2 separate regions of the Homo sapiens genome follow, and region 2 is linked to region 1. Evidence: promoter capture Hi-C in human tissues and cell types (Jung and others, 2019). All regions are on one chromosome and are shown on one strand. The core of a region is centred on a gene start or on the middle of the fragment in contact, and the rest is flanking DNA. Distances in the headings are between cores, read along the strand shown. Region 1 holds the start of HEATR5B (HEAT repeat containing 5B). Region 2 has its middle 24 kb from the start of HNRNPLL.

Region 1 (2,700 bases), core at 54-2,553:
GTTACAATGAGCTGCCCAGGTACAAACATAAAGAAGATAGGCAATGAGCTGGATTTAAACGAGGTTTGAGTTTTGCCACTAAATTTCCCATTCGTGTAATACTCTCAAGTTCCATAAGTGACCCATAAACCTTCCAAAACATAACATGTGTTTTCTTAAGAATCATGACCACATAATCTCTTCACGTTAATGCAACTGGGAAAAAAGAGCAATACCATACCTTGTTGGCAGCAACCAAGACTTTATCAAGAAATCGCAACCATTCAAAGATGAAAACTGGTCTTTTTGCTTCGGTGATTTGAGCCAAAGCTTCTTCATTTAGCAATAAACTGTGGGCTAACTCCATTACGGAAGTTTGAAATTCACACCTTAAATTTAACAGAGTAAAAAATACTTGTAAGTATTTTTTAATGTTAAAAGTCAAGCTTAATGGAATATACTCACTAAGAAAAGTAGGACTACTCATTTCATTTGGGGAAAAACTCAACTTCTTTGAGGCAAAACCTGAGAACATACTTTTAAATGACAAAAATACAAACAAAAACAGAAGAAAACTACTTGGTAAGGAAGAGTGACTCATGGAGTGAAAAGAAAATTAAAAGAAATTATTGCCAAAAAAGGCATTATTCCAGAAGAAATATGTCCAGCAACACATATGTCATTTACCCGTTCTATAAATGAAAAAACTGAAGCACTAAGATCAAACACCCCAGCCGGGCTTGACAACCATCCTCCTCTTTTTCTCGTCCAGGGTTCGGTACATAGCACCTTTACCCTCCCGCGCTGCACCTGGCCAGAGGGACTGAGGTCAAAACACCCAGCACAGACATCCCGAACTGCAGGTCTCCAAGACTCTTCCTACGCGGATGGGTGGGGCGGCCAGGCCCGGCGGCCGAAGCGTCAGTGACAACACCAGGCGGTCCGGAATGCACCCGAGAAGCCTCGCGCGCTCGGGGTCTGGCTTCACCTGGCTACTCCAAGAACCGCAAGCGGCGGACCCGGGGAAACACCAAGAGGCCGCCGCAAGCCTCCGTGGGGTTCCGCAGGCTGTCAATAGCACGAGGCGGCAGCTCGGAACTAAGCACGGAGCCAGAAAAGGGAAAATGTTCATTACGAACTCAAATGTCTTCCCCACCCGTCTGAAAATGTACGTCGGACAGGAGTCCGTGCGTGTCAACATGCATGCTTCGGCGACCTCACCTCGTAGTCTGGAAGGGAAGATCAGCTGAGCTCCGGGGGTAGAAGCAGCCACCAAGAGACCCGGATGCCCCACCTCCCGCACTCCTACCTGCAGGAAACAAGGGAAGAGCGCTTGCGCGGAGGGCTGGTCTTGCGCAAGCGCAGTCACCACGTCCTCCTATCCCCACCCGCCGCGAATTTCCAATAGAGTCTGCACTAGGAAACTGGTGGGAGCCGAGGTCCGGAAGTCCGACGCTGGTCGGTGGGCGCATGCGCAGCGCGCGCTCTACGGCGCTGAACCGGGGCGAGCAGAGAGCTGTCAGGTAAGAGAGCTGTCAGGTAAGGGTCTGGGGACAACCGGTAGAATGATAAAAGGCAGAGTGCGCTGGCCATGACTACCGTATCACACCGTCAGCCACTTTTCCATCCGTGGGTGGTTGCGTCTGTGGGACGCTTGCAGCCAGGAGGAACGCGTGAGGGAAGGGATCAGCGGTTCCTGAGCGTAGTATTGAGAGTGGGACGTTTCTTGTCACATTTATACTGTAGGTCCATTTCTCCACTTGTATATGTAATGGGACTCTCAATATGTCTGTTTCCCGACTACGCCCCCTAAAAAAACAAAAACAAACCTACTCCTACAGTCTTCCCACTCTCAAAAAACGTTAACTCCGTTCTTCCATGTATTCAGGCCAAAAACTTAGCGTTATCTTGACATCGTTCTTTACGTACTACCTACAACATCAGCAAATCCTGTAAGCTCTACCTTCAAGTGTACCCCAAATGCGACCACTTGCATTGCTATCACTCTGGTACGAGCCTCCATCATCTCTGCCAGGGTATCGCCTTGTGAAGTTTATGCTTATCTTTGATGGAAATGGATAATGCTAAAGTATATTTTACCAATAGAAAGAGAGCTTTAAAAGCAACCTGTAACCCCATTCAGATGTGCCTGGCACTTTAAAGTTAAGTAGGTCTCTTAAAAACAATGTAATCCTATTTGCAAGGCACTATGACCCGGATTCTTTGTGGTTTTGAAATAGTCATTTAGCCATACTGAACCTTAATTTCTCCAACAGGAAAAACTCTTCCTACCTTGTAGAGTTGTTAGTGGTGGTTAAATGTGATAAAAATGTGTGATATACTGGGTAAGTGTTAAACCATTATGTGTAAAAATGCTGTTATTACCAATGAAGAATCTGAGGTTTAGAGGAAGCGGGTGAATTACCATAAATGCTGTATATAATAGTGCACGTTTTTAACTTATAATAAAAATAGGTAAACTAAACTGTAATGTTTAAAGATGCACACGTGGATGACAAAACTATCGAGAAAATGAAGGAAATGATTGCCATAAAAAACAGAATAGTGACTATTCTTAGAACCAAAAGAGAGTTGCAACTGGATAGGGGACAAAGAGGGCTCCCAGGTGCCTGATAAGGTTCTACTTCCTGATAACTTTTGCTACATAACAAATTATCCCCAAATGTAGCAGCTTAAGATAACTGTAATCATTTGTTATCT
Region 2 (2,700 bases), core at 18-2,517, 1.5 Mb after region 1:
AGGCTGGTCTCGAACTCCTGACCTCAGATGATCCACCCACCTTGGCTTCCCAAAGTGCTAGGATTACACACATGAGCCATGGTGCTCTGCCCCCATTCACTTTTTCAATAAATATTTATTAATTGTGTTTTATGGACAAGGTACATATGTCTTTTATGAACTAGGTATTTCAGGGAATGCAATTGTGAGTAAACCATGATTCTCATTTGTCTTCTGAGCGATTATAATCTAGAACAGACAAGATGTGTACACAAATTACGATTTTTAAAATTTGCTACTTTGTAAGGGTCAGAAGAGTTTTAAAGACAGTGAATCAAACCTCTTGTGTGGCCCTAACCCCCAAATGCTCTGTAACCATCTCTCATAGCTCAAGAGCAGCTTGCATTTAGATGGGTGATTTGTCATTTAAAGAAATATGTCAATCATCATTAAAGATACATGGAAAAATGAAACTGGTTTATTTGTTAAAGTAGTGGAATTATGGGTGATTTTTCCCCAGTGGTTTTGATTTACATTACCATTATATAATGGTGCTTGAGCTTTGTTATGTTTAAAAGAAAAAGCTGGAATTGTTGTCATCCACAACCCAGCTCCAGGGACTGATTCCCAAGTTAGCTTAGCTCATCTCTGAATTAATCTCCTGAGGATCTGAGAAAACTCTATAGAGTTCCACAGAAGACTGCCAGCTTTACATAGTCACAGGAACGTATCTTTAAACCATTTGAGGATGTTTTCTATATTGTATGTAACATGAAATGGTTTTTAAATGGTGTTAAACCTTTGAAAAGTGATGTGCTTGTAGAACTGTCTTCTTAAGACCCACTGTGGGATTTTTCCCCTCCCCCCACATCCTTTTGATGTCAGTGATAACAGTCCCACAAGGGCACACTGTCAGTTAACTAGATAGGAAGCTTCGTTAGGCAAGCAGGTGTCAGCAGTGGCACAATCTACTAATTTATAAATGAGTGTATTAGGGTTCCCTACAGGGACAGAACTAATATATATACGTATACATAAACGGGAGTTTATTAAGGGGTATCGACTCACACAATCACAAGGTGAGGTCCCACAATAGGCTGTCTGCAAGCTGAGGAGCAAGGAGGCCAGTCCGAGTCCCAAAGCCTCAAAAGTAGGGCAGCCAACAGTGCAGCCTGCAGTCTGTGGTCTAAAGCCCAAGAGTCCCAAAGCTGCCCTCAAAGACTTGCAGTCTGATGTCTGAGGGCAGGAGGTATCCACCACAGGAGAAAGACGGAGGCCAGAAGACTCAACTAGTCTAGTCTTTCCACATTCTTCTGCCTGCTTTTTTTTATGGCCATGCTGCCAGCTGATGAGATTGTGCCCACCTAGGTTGAGGCTGGGTCTGCCTTTCTCAGTCCACTGACTCAAATGTGAATCCCCTTTGGCAACACCCTCACAGATACACCCAGGAACAATACTTTGCATCCTTCAATCCGATCAAGTTGACACTCAATATTAACCATCACAATGATCATTACCTGACTACTTGCATTTAACACCAATCTAAGCTAAGAGTCCTCTGATGAGAAACTGGGCTCTACAAATATGAAGAAAGATTTCTCTGAGCCCTTGGCAGCCATTAAGCTACTCCCATTAACAGCCTCCCTTATACTCTGTATAGGATTCCCCACTCATAAAGAAGGGCATGGGGACTGCATCAGCCTTTAATAAGATATGATTCCTGAAACTGCAATGACCATCTTGGACCGTGAGAAAACGAAGGAGAAAATCACAAAGGTGCCGTTCCTGCCATAATTGGGATATTGAACCAATTCCTGCAGCTGCTACCTCCAACTTCTTGTTTTGTCACAATAATAAATGGCTATTTGTTTAAGCCACTATAGTCTGGTGGTGGGTTACTTGCAGTTGAATGTAATCCTTAGTGATATGAGACTGTGGCCATAGCAGTGCTAACATTGCAGATCAAACAGCTTTACAAACAGTGATTGTAACTCGACTTAACTCTTTCCAGGGTCAAGAACTCTCTGCCTTCTAACATCTGAATTCCATTTTTCTCTGTTTGTTTCAGTATGTGTCTTTCATGTTGCAGGTTTTCTTGAAATGTCAGAATCCTTGGCTGATCATTAGTTTTTAAGAGTGCCTCCTAAAAAGGCTCTTTGGAAGCTCCGGGTGCATTGGCAAGGTGTGTTGCCTAAAGGGCTTTTCTGCAGGACAATTAGATGGTGAACCAGCTTTATTATTGGGGGACCCTGTAATGTCAGCAGCAGCCCCTCCAGAGAGATACTTCCACCATTTCTCCTCATCACCTTCCCCCTCCACTGTTCCCAACCCCAACTCCAGCCTCTCCAGTGATCTGAGACTTTCAGGAAAGAACTTAGGGAAAATAGATCTTTATTTTAGAGGATGATATGGCCAGAGTGTATCTGAAGCTCTGTGTCAAGTAATGTTATAGCAGTGCTCTATAATTCTTGTTGATATCACTGTGTTCTGTACTCAGTGACAGCCTAACTGGAAAAAATTTAAGTAATAATAATGATATTTGACATATTAAGAACACACCATGTGCCAAGCAGTTCGTTAAACACTTTATACATATTAACTCATTAATCCTACCCAGCCAAGTATACTCTTGGTATCCCATTGTACCAATGAGGAAAGGGAGGCTAAGAGGTTACATAACTTGCCTAGAGTTACACACCTAGTGAATGGATCATTGGAATC

What was found. Contacts are between HindIII fragments. The study calls those that stand out against the background at their distance.
Region 2: a contact is called between a fragment that was not itself captured here and the fragment with the promoter of HEATR5B in region 1, in 1 of the 25 tissues and cell types used here (spleen).

The regions. Positions count from the first base shown.
Region 1 is chr2:37,083,069-37,085,768 of GRCh38, forward strand. HEATR5B (HEAT repeat containing 5B) reads right to left here and starts at 1,304. Exons shown (of 36, transcript NM_019024.3): 1 at 1,201-1,304; 2 at 221-368. The coding sequence starts at 346. GPATCH11 (G-patch domain containing 11) reads left to right here and starts at 1,450. Exons shown (of 9, transcript NM_174931.4): 1 at 1,450-1,502. RefSeq lists enhancers at 812-911, 1,382-1,541. The HindIII fragment of the contact is 9,229 bases long and covers 1-2,700 here.
Region 2 is chr2:38,625,667-38,628,366 of GRCh38, forward strand. No RefSeq gene overlaps it. Among named protein-coding and RNA genes, the nearest start is that of HNRNPLL, 24 kb to the left of the region's middle. The HindIII fragment of the contact is 3,443 bases long and covers 1-2,700 here.